Linked DNA regions of Homo sapiens: all the other regions are linked to region 4. The links are contacts of gene promoters, found by promoter capture Hi-C in blood cells and fetal thymus (Javierre and others, 2016). All regions are on one chromosome and are shown on one strand. Each heading gives the region's core, a stretch centred on a gene start or on the middle of the fragment in contact. The rest is flanking DNA. Distances are from core to core; before and after follow the strand shown. Region 1 has its middle 21 kb from the start of C1QTNF9B. Region 2 overlaps MIPEP (mitochondrial intermediate peptidase). Region 3 overlaps MIPEP (mitochondrial intermediate peptidase). Region 4 holds the start of SACS (sacsin molecular chaperone).

Region 1 (3,300 bases), core at 736-3,235, 480 kb before region 4:
GCCAGCACCTTTTATTGAATAGGAAGTCTTTTCCCCATTATTTATTTTTGTCTAATCTGTTGTAGATCAGATGATTAGAGGTGTGCATCTTTATTTCTTGGGTCTCTATACTGTTCCAGTGGTCTATGTGTCTATTTTTGTGCCGGTATCATGTTGTTCTGGTTAATGTAGCCTGATAGGATATAGTACAAAGTCGGGTCATGTAATGCCTTAAACTTTGTTCTTTTTGCTTAGGACTTCTTCGGCTATATGGGCTCTTTCTCGGTTCCATATGAGGATTAGAACAGTTTTTTCCTAATTCTGTGAAAAATGGCATTGGTAGTTTGATAGAAATAGCATTGAACTTATAGATTGTTTTGGGCAATAGTGATTCTTCCAATCCATGAGCATGAATGTTTTCCCATTTATTTGTGTCATCTCTGATTTCTTTCAGCAATGTTTTGTAGTTCTCTTAGTAGAGATATTAACTTCCTCAGTTAGATGTATTCCTAAGTATTTTTTAATGGACATCGTAAATGGGATTGCATTCTTGATTTGGCTCTGAGCTTGAATGTTACTGGTATATATAAATGCTACTAATTTTTGTACATTGATTTTGTATCCTGAAACTTTGCTGAAATTAAAATCATTGAACAGTTCCAGGAGCCTTTTAGCAGAGTCTTCAGGGTTCTCTAGGTATAGAATCATATCATCAGTGAAGAGAGTTTGACTTCCTCTTTTCCTATATGGATGCCTTTAATTTCTTTCTCTTGCCTGATTGCTCTGGCTAGGACTTACAGTACTATGTTGAATAGGAGTGGTGAGAGATGATATCCTTGTCTTACTCTCAAGGGGAATGCTTCCAGCTTTTGCCCATTCAGCATGATGATGGCTATAAGTCTGTCATAGATAGCTCTTAATATTTTGAGGTTTGTTCCTTTGATGTCTAGATTGTTGAGGGGTTTTATCATGAAAGCATGTTGGATTGTATCAAAAGCTTTGTCCACATCTATGGAGATAAACTGTGGTTTCTTGTTTTAATCCTGTTTATGTGGTGAATCACATTTATTGATTAACATTTGTTGAACTAACCTTGCACCTCAGGAATACAGCCTACTTGATCATGGAGAATTAACTTCTTGATTTGCTGCTGCATTCATTAGTATTTGTTTGAGGATTTTTGCATCTATGTTCATCAGGGATATTGACCTGTAGTTTTCTTGTATAGCTATGTCTTTGCAAGATTTTGGTAACAGGATGACACTGTCTTTGTAGATTGATTTAGGGAGGAGTCCCACCTCCTTGATTTTTTTGGGATTAGGTTCAGCAGAATTGGCACCAGCTCTTCTTTGTACATCTGGTAGAATTCAGCTGTGAATCCGTCAAGTTTGTGGCTTTTTTTGGTTGGAGTTTTTAAGTTTTTTAAATTACTGATTCAATTATGGAACTCAATATTGGTTTGTTCAGGGTTTCAATTTCTTCCTGATTCAGTCTTAGGAGGTTGTGGGTTCCCAGGAATGTACCCATTTCCTGTAGATTTTTTAGTTTGTTTGCATAGAGGTATTCATAATCGTTGCTGAGAATCTTTTGCATTTCTGTGGGATTGGTTGTAATGTCATCTTTGTCATTTCTGATTGTGCTGGTTTGGATCTTCTTTTTCTGTTTGTTCAGCTAGCTGGTTGTCTGTTGATTTTCTATCCTTTCAAAGACCCAACTTGTGGTTTCATTAATTATTTGTATGGATTTTTGGGTTTCCATTTGCATTCAGTTTTGCTCTTCTTTCTTTTCTTCTGGTAGCTTTGGGGCTAGTTTGTTCTTATTTTCCTAGTTCCTCTAGGTGTGATGTTCAATTGTTAATTTGAGATCTTTCTAACTTTTTGATGTAGGTATTTAGGGCTACAAACTTTCCTCTTAATACTGCTTTTGCTGTATCCCACTGATTTTGGTATATTGTGTCTTTGTTATAATTTATTGCATGGATTTTTTTTTTATTTCTGCCTTAATTTTGTTGTTTACCCAAAAGTCATTCAGGAGCAGGTTTTTTCATTTTCATATAATCATGTAGTTTTGAGAGATTATCTTGGTACTAATTTCTATTTTTATTCCATTGTGATCAGAAAGTATCATTGGCATGATTTGTATTTTTCTAATTTATTGAGACTTCCTTTATGACCAAAAATGTGGTTGATCTTGGAGAATGTTCTGTGTGCAGAAAAGAAACATGTATATTCTGGGGTTGATGAACTGAGTACTCTGTAGATGTCTATTAGGTTCGGTTGATCAGGTGTACAATTTTGGTCTAGAATTTGTTAGTTTCCTGCCTTGATGATCTAATGCTGTCAGTGGGGTGTTGAAGTCCTCCACTATTGATTATGTGGCTGTACAAGTCTTTTTGTAGGTCTAGAACTTCTCATTTTATGAATGTGGGTGCTCCAGTGTTGGGTGCATATACATTTAGAACAGTTAAGTCTCCTTGTTGAATTAAACCTTTTATCATTATGTAATGCCTTTTTTTGTCCTTTCTTACTGCTGTTGTTTTAAAGTCTGTTTTATCTAAGAATCATCACCCCTGCTCTTTTTGGTGTTCTGTTTGCATAATAGCTCTTTCACCAACCCTTTACTTCAAGCCTATGGGTGTCATTATGTGTGAGACGGATCTCTTGAAGACAACAAAGAGATGGGTCTCGATTTTTTTTTATCCAATTTGCTACACTGTGCCTTTTAAATGGAGGCATTTGGACTGTTGATATTAAAGGTTAATATTGATATGTGAAGTTTTGGTCCTATAGTAAAGTTGATAGCTGGTTGCTATGTAGTTTTTATTGCATGGTTACTTTATAGGGTCTGTGAGCTACGTAAATTAACTATGCTTTTGTGGTAGCAGGTATCATTCTTTCATTTCCATGTTTAGAAGTCCTTTAGGGATCTCTTGTAAGTCTTGTCTAATGGTAACAAATTCCCTTAACACTTGCTTGTCTGGAAAAGATTTTATTTCTCTTTCAGTTATGAAGCTTAGTTTGGTAGGATATTTAATTCTTGGTTGGAATTTCTTTTATTTATGAATGCTGAAAATAGGCCCCCATCCCTCGTGGCTTGCAACGTTTCAGCTGAGAAGTCCACTATTAGCCTGACAGGTTTACCTTCTCAGCCTTTAAAATGTTTTTCTTTAGCATTGACCATGGACAGTCCAATGACTATATGCCTTGATGATATTTGTTTTGCATAGTATCTCACAGGTGTTCTCTGGATTTCTTTATTTGGATGACCACCTCTATCAAAATTAGGAATGTTTTCTTGAATTATTTCCTCAAATATGTGTCC
Region 2 (3,097 bases), core at 516-3,015, 410 kb before region 4:
CAGTGAGCTGAGATCATGCCACTGCACGCCTGGGTGATAGAGCATGACTCCGTCTCAAAAAAAAAAAAAATTAAAAACAATAGAGAAACCACCAGAGAAGCTAAAATATAGACTATAAATATCACTAATATATCAAATTATTAGAAAGAAAAAGGAAATGCAGCACACATAGCTAAAGAAGGAAAATAAAGGAAGCATTAAAAGAAACGTAACAGAATTACATTGGCGAGAGTGAGAGCACTAGGTATTTTCATACACTGCAGGTAGGAATGTAAGTTAGAAACAGCTTTTTTTAGAGGATAATTTGGAAATACATATCAAAAAACTTAAGATCTTGTACTCTTTGCAGCAATGCCATTTCTTCAGTTTATCTTATGGATAGGCTTGTGTGGGTGTGACAAGGACATTTCACTATGGCATCACTTTAACAGATAAACTAACAGCAGCTTACCGTCAGTTAAAAGGAACAGAGGCAGACCAAGGCAGGGAAGTGAGCTCTGGGTGTGGCCTAACGGGATGCATTTTCTGTAAAAAAGTTAAAATCAATAATAAAACTGATGAAAAGTCTGGGTTCCTTTAATATCCCCATATGTGGGAAATTCCAAACGATGTCAGTGGTCGGATGCTTCCCCCATTGATGCTTCAGGCTCTCATTGACCTTGCCTCCTCTGCTCATGTACAACACAACAGGAGATGCATGAAATGAGCTTTGTCATGTGTTTGCTGTGGATGACTACACCCATGAAAGAAAACAGGCTAGAGCTTTATATACTAAACTGGAAAGTATTCCAAGTTATATTTTTATGAAAAATATATGTGTAAAAATACATATCATTGATATATTTTTATGTTAAATAAAATTGCGAGATAGTGTGAATGGTATGATTCTATTTGTGCCAAAGTAGGTTTATATATACATAAAGTTTACATGCATAAGCTTCTAAGAGTGTGCATAGGAAATGCCTGGAAGGATACACAAGATATTTACCTCTGGGGGTGGGCATAGTGAGCCAGGGGACAAGACAGTATACTTTTTGCCCATTGTTAATATTTTTGAGGTGTTTTTATTTTAAAACAGGCAGTTTAGAAATTCATTTGTTCCCAATCATTTTAGGGTAATATTGTAATATTATATGAACTTATATTCTATACTTAAATTTTTTTTCCAAGATAAATTGTTTCCTTGAATTTTGCCCAACACATAATGATTGTCATGGTCATTGGATAAGACAGTAAATATTTTTAGGTTATAGTTTAGTAAAATAAGCTGTGTTACTAGCTTTACTGTGTTTCTTTTCCATAAAAATAAATGTTCATTATAATCTTAAGAAGGGTAGAATTTTAATATGTAAAGTTTCTTTTTATTCTCCTTTATTTTTGTGTTTTTATTGTCTGGAAACAAAAAAATGAATTGCTTTTTATAACCAATTATAGTTTAAACTTTCTTGCCTTGGTAGTAGGTTCTATGGGAGGTTTCTGCTCTGGTAAGCTGTGATTCTCTATGGCTGCCTGCCTTTCTTTCCAGTTTTGGGGGCAGCAGTTTGCTCTGTGGCCTTGATTCTCTGCTGAATCTAAGAAGATTCTTGATTTTCAGCTTGTTCAGCTTCCTGCTTGTTAGGATGGAGTGGTGACTTTCAACCTCCTCATGTGCAGGAGTGGAAACCTCAAGCCTGGACCACTTCCTTTTATAGTTTATTTTCTCCCCTCTTTCCATGCACTCCTTTCTCTCAGTTCTTCAGTACCTCTGAACTGTTCTGTGTCTTCCTTCCCACCCCTCCCTCTGGTAGTTCAGGGGTCTGCCCTTTACCTTCTCTGCCCGCATCGCCCTTCCCTAATGGCCCTGTCTCCCTCTATGGCTCTAATATCTGTACAGTGAAGTCTCCTTGTTCTCCTTAGCTTTGGGTCCTGAGTGTCTGGTATCTCATGGGCACTTCACAGTCGGTTCCTCCAAAATGGAGTTTATTTTCTGTGAGCCCTCCATCCTCCTCCCATCATTGCACCTCACCCTCCTCTCTTCTCCCACAAACACACCCAGATTCCCCTCTTCCTTTTTTGTGTTCATTGTGCCGGCTGATTCAGTGACTCTACCATCCACTTATTTGTCCAAGCCAGAAACCTGAGTGTTATTCTAGATTGTTCTGTCTTTCTCATCACCCTCCAAATCCAATCACTCACACAGTCCTGAGACGTTTGCATCTCAAAGGAAAAACACATTCATCCCTGACCCCACTGCCCTCTGTCAGAGTTCACCCTCTGAAGCCTGGAAGTCTGTCCTCCTGTCAGCCCTCCCTGCCTCCTGCATTCCACCCTCCATGCTGTCCACTGTGCAGCATTCCAGAAAACATCAGATGCTCCCCTATGGCCTACAGAAGCTGTCTCCCAAATGGCATCTGTAAGCAATTCATTGAGAGTGTAGTCATAAAATATTAGAAATTCTATGTATATTTATTTTTCTTTATCTCAACTTATAAAAATGTCTGCTTTTCTTTTTGCAATGTGATAAAACAATACCACATGCATATACTTTATGAGTGTACTAATAGAAGGTTGAATACTCAAAAGTTATTTTAGTGTGCATTGGTGAGGAAGCTTAGAGGCCATGGCCTATGGTGCATGGTCCCAGTTCCTCAGCTTAGTGGACCAGGCCCTCTGTTTTCTGGCCCCTGCCTGCCTTTTCCAGACTCCGCTCCCATTCTTTCTACATTTATCCCTGCATTGGTAACTGCTTCATCTTTAACCACATCCTTTCTAGAAGTTACCAGGCTATTTTATGCCATCATACTTTAGTTATACTGTCGCTTCTGCCTAGAATTCCTATTATGATTCCCATTTTCCATTCCTCATCCCAGCCCTGCCTTGCAAAGTCTGATTCCTTTTTTTTTTTTTTTTTTTTTTGAGATGGAGAGTCTTGCTCTGTCGCCCAGGCTGGAGTGCAGTGGCACAATCGTGGCTCACTCAACCTCCGCCTCCTGGGTTCAAGCAATTCTCTGCCTCAGCCTCCCGAGTAGCTGGGATTACAGGCACCCGCCACCACACCCGGCTAATTTTTGTACTTTTAGTAGAGACGGGGTTTCACCATGTTGGCCAAACTGGTCTT
Region 3 (3,347 bases), core at 15-2,514, 430 kb before region 4:
TTCTGCACTCCAGCCTGGGCAACAGAGCAAGACTCCATCTCAAAAAAAAAAAAAAATTAATTGAGGCAGATTCTTCACATGTAAAATGACTGGAAGAATAAGATGGGTGAATGTTAAAACACGGTTATTAAGAAATAAAACGTATACAAGCATACATAGGGATTCATTTGAAAACAGTTTGGTATGGTACCTGGAATATAATCCTAAAATGAGATTTCATTGTTGACTAAATAATGTCTTTGTTCCCCAAAAATTCCTATTGTTGTTTCATATGGCACATGAGCCAGTGTTTTCAGAATTCGTATACACAGGACTTGTTAAGTATTGACAGTGGCAAGAAACCTCATGGTTTGGGTTTAGGTTAACCACCATTATTTATTTCCTTAGTCTTTTATTTCACTCAAAAGGAGATAACTTAAATTGAAGAGAGGGCAGGAAACTTAAAACTGTATAAAAGATTATCTGGAAAATACAAACATAGTGTTTGTGGTGAACTAAAATACATATGAAAGCTCTGTACACATAAGTCAGTGATAAAAAGTGCTACATTCAGAAATACTTGCAAAACATTTCCTCTTGTGGGAAACGGTGATAATTCTACTGCACTGCCTTTATGGGTTTGTAAATTATGACAACTATGGCAGAAGTATTTTAATAAAAATACTTTAAAAATTCTATCAGAAGTTAATATTTATTTTTCTTATTTTGCTATTTTTTTCATATTTATCCTGAATAGATTATTCTACAGTTGTATATAACAATAAAATTGTTATCAAGAAAAACATTGATCTTAAAAAATTTATTTCAGGGAATTATACTTCTACACTGCACCTATTTTTATGAACAAAGCAGTCTAGATATCTCTTTAAAACTCTGAAAACGTCAGACATGTCTCAGAACTTTTTTTTCTTACACATATGAATAGATAGAAACACCTTGAAATTTTGTACTTTTTTCTTTAGCCTCCCATTAACTCTTTTTTTTTTTTTTTTTGAGATGGAGTCTCACTTTCTTGCCCAGGCTGGAGTACAGTGGCACAGTCTGGGCTCACTATAGTCTCTACCTCCTGGGTTCAAGCTATTCTCCTGCCTTAGCCTCCCAAGTAGCTGGGACTATAGGCATGCACCACCACGCCTGGCTAATTTTTGTATTTTTGGTAGAGACGGGGTTTCAGCCTGTTGGCCTTGCTGGTCTTGAACTCCTGACCTCAGGTGATCCACCCCCTGCCCTCAGCCTCCCAAAGTACTAGGATTACAGGCATGAGCCACCTGGTCCCATTAACTCTTTTAATTTTGGGATAGAATCTGACGCTGTGGATTATTAGTATGCCAATTTAATTTTTTTCTGATTAAAAGATCGTCATCACCTAGAAGCATTTACTATATGTTTGGTATATGTTGGTAGCTCTACTTCCCTTTGAAAATCATCACTTTAAGGGAATTGTGGGATATAGATTATGATCATCACATAATAATTTTAACAGATATGTTCATTTTATTTCACATAATTGAAGATATTTTCTTTTGGATTTCGTTTTAGAGACTGTCATGCAGTTCCTTGAAAAACTATCTGACAAACTTTCTGAAAGGTTAGTTTTTATTCTACTATTTAGTTTTTTGGTTATATGTTATTTAGTCTTTTTAAAGAAGACTTGATTTATAAAAAATTAGGAAGTGACCTAGAATATAAGTTTTGGCATATTGGACCAGACCTGTCTCACTATGAGACATACTTTAAAAGGCCATAGTTGTCTTCCTTATGTGCCATTCTTGAAAACATAAGCTGTCCCCTTTCATTAAACAATTGTTTTTAGAAATTCATCTTTCATTTGCACTTTAAAAATCTTTACCAAAATGTTTTTGAAACTATTTATTTTAACTTGTACCATGAATTTTATGACAAGTTCATAAAGTAGTATTTCTCTTCTTTTGGCCTAAATACAGGAGGCTCATGGATGTGGTGTCTTTTTAATTTTGTGTAGTATTTTAAGGATGTTCTATCTCAACATTTGTAATTTCAAGCTGAAGTGTTCTACTGCCTTTGGTGTGTCCGTTTGTTATAACAAGTTGAGTGTCCCTTATCTGAAATGCTTGGGACCACACATGTTTTGGATTTCATTTTTTGGGGGGAATTTGGAATATTTGCATATACATAATGAGATATCTTGGGGATGGGACCCAAGTCTAAACACGAAATTCATTTATGTTTCATATACACCTTATACACATAGCCTGAAGATAATTTTATACAGTGTTTTTAATAATTTTGTGCCTGAAACAAAGTTTTGGCTGCAACCTATCACATGACATCACATGTGGAATTTTCCACTTGTACCATCATGTCAGTGCTGAGAAAGTTTCAGATTTTCAGATTAGGGAGGCTCAACCTGTATTCCTGCCTCCCCTGCCCCTCCCCTGCTCAGTGCCTTCGATCATACACTTGCCCTTCACTGGCCCTCTTCTAGGCCTTAGTTGAGAGGCAGCACACCTTTAGGTACTAAGGATTCTAGGAAGAAGCAGTCACCGTTTGTAAAAAAGGATGATGTTTTCTCTTTTTCTCTTGTAATGCTGTCTAAAATTTTGTTTGCCTGTTGTGGCTACACCAACACATTGGATCTTGGCTCACATTTCTGTTTTGGACTATAAACTCATGCCTTAGAACTCATTCTTCTCTAGTTTGGATTATGTTTATAAATTCTAAAATTTTCTTTTAATGATCCTGGTGAACCACTGTGTCTTTGATACAATAAAGAAAGAGGGTTAGTTATGCACTTATTGAGGATTTATCCTGCTTTACTTAGTTAAGTGTTAGTAGTCTTTCTCTACATAGCTATAGATTTTAGAGCAAGCATAGCTTCATCATTTTACAGGTATATATAGGAATTAATTCCAATATACATGTCATATTCTACAAATATTAAATACCTATTTAATTATTGACCAGCTAGAGTTTTTCCAAAGGGGAAAAATGACTAGAAATCTTAAATGTAGCCAATGATAAAATTCCTTTCTAGGAGTTAATTTGTTAAGTCTCTTTTAAAGGTATAGCAAAAAGTAGTGATTTAAAGTTAGTGATTAATGCTTTGCATATTTGTAATGACATTGCTAGTTTTTCCAAGCTTTAGTACTCTTGAGACATTTATCCACCATGATGCTTTTTAAGGTAGAAATCGCAGTAATATGCTGCTTTATATATTGTTATTTCTCATGACACTTAGGTAAAATTTGGATTAATAGTGATTTATGTGTGCACTACTAATTGTATCTAATCTTATGAATATTGGAATGTAACATAAGCAAACTAGTCCTTTCATAATGTAATTGTTAAAATTTTGTCCTAACAAGTAA
Region 4 (3,251 bases), core at 43-2,542:
GTAGTTATTTATAACTTTTCCCTTTGGGGGTGTAATGGTTTACAGCTGTGAGTAGAAGAGCCTGCTGGGGGAGCAACATACTGGGTATTCACCGTTTAGTCTACGGTGTCTAGCTGATGCCAGGAACAAGCAAGGGCTCAATATTTGTGTGCTGAATTAAACTGATTACAACTGAACCATGTAAGAATGGTGGTAGCCTCAGAGAGGCAGCCTCACTCCACAGGCGCATGCCACCGAGGGCCTGTTGGTCCACACGGTGCTACAGTGAGAGCTCAATGAAAAGGCCCTGCAAGACACCATTTCTCCCCAATAGAAATGTGCTTTGTTTGTGATTATTCAGTCCTTTTGTTAGAACAGGTCTCCCACCTATCTCCCAGGAAATAATATGTACACAAATCTGTGAGTCTAGGATGTGAAGGAGACACCATTAGATGTGGCATCTTCTGGGTCAGACCAGTGCAGGGCCAGGTACAAGAAGCAGGGGCTCTCCTTCCCCAGTTGCTGCTGACATTTGGGGCTTGCTTTGGTCTTCTCCCAGGAGAGATCATTTGAGCCTTTTCAGGTCTGGAGTTGTTTGAACTGACTTAAGAGGAATTTTCCGCAGGAACGAAGCAATAAGAAGCTTCCGAGATCCAGTATTTCCAGATAAGCCAAAATTCTAGATTTATATGGATAAAGCAGGCAGTTCTACTAGGAGACTATCATGAGGAATATGATGTACCCAGGCCAGTGGCAGGATAGCTGTGCGCCGAAATGAAATAAATGCTGGTGGTATTTCACATACCCCATCAGAGGAAGCAAGAAAATAGAGTTACAATATTTTGTATTATTAAATTGAGACTAGCAATTTCAACTTAGAACAGGATCAATTGTATAGCATTTCACAGTTTACCACACATTTTGAGTGAATGCTTTTTTTTTTAACCATTGGAACCTCATAAACAACTCCAAATAACATACAAAAAGCAGATTGTGAGCTACAACATTACCAGGTCACAGGTCTTCATTTCCCATGAGGTACTCGAGACCCATGAGTGACTTGTCTAAGGTCACACAACTGGTGTTTAATAGAGCCAGTCTTCTGTTAGCCATACCTACTGCTAAAAATTAGCCTTTGCAAGTGAAGAGAACAAAAACGTGTGGTTGGTTGTCACCCCCACAATGAACGACAATGCTGCACTTGCAGCATTATTGACACCTAAGGTTGATGACAGTCCTGTCTCTTTAAGAAGAAAAAAAAAGGCTGCTGGGTAGGGGGAGCGACTGACTGCGGCAGGAGCCGCCTGGACCCAGTGCGGCTGCGGGACAGTCACGCTGGGAACTGCTGATGGCACTGGAGGAAAACAAAGGCCGAGAGACCCTGATGCCCACAGCCCCCAGTAAGTCCAAGGTTCCAGCTGGGTGGCCAGCGAGGGCAGCTGCAGGAGCGGCCTGGGGACGGGCAGGCTCCATGGTGTTGTTGGCCATCCGTCCCCTGAGCCTTGGGAAACCAGGGCTCGGCCACTGCAGCTGCTTGGGGGAGGTAAGGGGCCACTTTCCTTTAACATACCCGCCTTCGGAGAGGACAGAGACGAGAGGGCCTTCAGCGTGCTGTACAGCTGTGAGTAATGAGCTCTTCTGAAAATGTACAGTTTGGGTTGGCTGCTTGTGAATTTGTGGGTGAGGAGCGGCTGCAGGGTGACTAGAGAGATCTGCCGCGGTCAAGATGCTGGACTAGCCGCTTTGTCATTTTAATTTCCACCCGGGTTGCCAGGCACCGCCACAATGGAGCTGTTGCAGTAACACAGCGTGGGGTCCAGAGTCTTATTGAACAATAAGATGGGATTCTCAAAGTAGCTTACGGTTAATTTGCAGAATTGCTCTCACTTTAAACAGCATGCCTTCAAACAATGCCATATGTTATGGTTATCTTATATAATATTTGAAAATCCTGCTTTTAGTTAAAAAATATTTCACATATTTAATTTTATTCTAATAAGCGATCATTAGATTCTTTGAAAGAGTATTCCAGCTTTAGCAACAAAACCTCTCTCTCGCTGTCTTTTTTTCTTCCTTAAAACGAGGTCAATACCTCAGAGAAGAGGACTGGATTTGTTTCTATTAAAACATATCAATTGTTTTGGCTTTAATCTTAATTCTCTCTGCCCCTGAAGATGGATAAAGCCCATTCCGCTTAAGTAAAAGGCAGAAGCCAGGTTGAATCCACGTGCTTCCCAAGCGCAAGCTGCTCTGAAGTTATTTTGAAGGGGAACTCTTCATTTCTCCATCAGTGCAGATAAAAGTAATTGATTCACAGGTCATGGATGAAAATAATAATAATAATAATAAATAATTGACAATCCCATTTTATTTGTCACATGACAAGTAGATTTGCCATTCTGTTTTTCTTAAGCTGCCCATTGATAACCAGACTCATTCTACGTTAATGCAGGGTCATGATGTCCCAGTAGTTTTACTTATGACCATCCAGACTGCCTTCCCTAATCTTGCCCTGAAGCCTCACTTTGGGCTGTGACAACGATCCCCAGTTTCCTTTCCTCTATCCTCCTTAGCCGTCCCTTTCATCCTTTCTTCTCCTTCCTGGGCTGTTTGGGCAATTTTTTCTTTCTTTTCTCCTTGGATCTTAAAGACTCCTTCAGTCTCCCTTTCAAACAAAGCAAGCCAGATTTTCTACATACCCTATTTTCCTTTAATCTTACTTGGTTTATAAGAACTTTTCCACGATTAAGTGTTTTCTATTCTTCACATAATAGGAAGAAAAGTCCAATTATAGAACTTGAAGACCAAGGTTTGCTTACATCTGAAGCATCTCAAAACCATTGCTTTACGCAGGACTTGCCCCCAGAAGCCCCGGGTTCCAATCTCAGGTCTACCACATCCTTACTCTGCAGCCCCTGACAATCCACATAACTTCTGTGAGCCTCAGTTCCCTCCTGTGTCAGAGATGACACAATTATTCACTTAATGGTCACAGGGTTGAAACCAGGTGATTTGTATGAAGGCGCCTAGCAGGGTTCTTCACACAGTGTCACTATTTAGTAAGAGTTTTGTCGTTTTCTCACTCAGTCCACCATCTACCTAACCACCATGGTGAAGCATGCTAAAGTGGTTCATGCACCATTTCCCAAAAGGAATAAATTTTGAAATGAACTTTTGGCTGAGTGCATCTGAATGAGTCCTGATCAGTACAAAATACATATTCAGTTCTTGCTATGCACGAAACACTGTTCTAAGCCCTCTTGTCTATAAAA

What was found. Contacts are between HindIII fragments. The CHiCAGO score rates a contact against its expected background, and 5 or more counts as called.
Region 1: a contact is called between a fragment that was not itself captured here and the fragment with the promoter of SACS in region 4, in 2 of 17 cell types (fetal thymus and erythroblasts). The highest score is 6.0, in fetal thymus.
Region 2: a contact is called between a fragment that was not itself captured here and the fragment with the promoter of SACS in region 4, in 1 of 17 cell types (M1 macrophages). The highest score is 5.6, in M1 macrophages.
Region 3: a fragment that was not itself captured here is called in contact with the fragment with the promoter of SACS in region 4 in 8 of 17 cell types (M2 macrophages, non-activated CD4 T cells, M0 macrophages and 5 more); the score reaches 9.1 in M2 macrophages.

Annotation. Positions count from the first base shown.
Region 1 is chr13:23,916,601-23,919,900 of GRCh38, reverse strand. It overlaps the pseudogene ANKRD20A19P. Among named protein-coding and RNA genes, the nearest start is that of C1QTNF9B, 21 kb to the right of the region's middle. The HindIII fragment of the contact is 2,014 bases long and covers 979-2,992 here.
Region 2 is chr13:23,842,896-23,845,992 of GRCh38, reverse strand. The region is part of intron 10 of MIPEP (mitochondrial intermediate peptidase); the gene reads left to right. Among named protein-coding and RNA genes, the nearest start is that of PCOTH, 44 kb to the left of the region's middle. The HindIII fragment of the contact is 1,652 bases long and covers 940-2,591 here.
Region 3 is chr13:23,862,382-23,865,728 of GRCh38, reverse strand. It overlaps MIPEP (mitochondrial intermediate peptidase), which reads left to right. Exons shown (of 19, transcript NM_005932.4): 8 at 1,540-1,588. Among named protein-coding and RNA genes, the nearest start is that of PCOTH, 25 kb to the left of the region's middle. The HindIII fragment of the contact is 3,713 bases long and covers 1-3,120 here.
Region 4 is chr13:23,431,743-23,434,993 of GRCh38, reverse strand. SACS (sacsin molecular chaperone) reads left to right here and starts at 1,292. Exons shown (of 10, transcript NM_014363.6): 1 at 1,292-1,379. RefSeq lists an enhancer at 1,473-2,040. The HindIII fragment of the contact is 4,074 bases long and covers 625-3,251 here.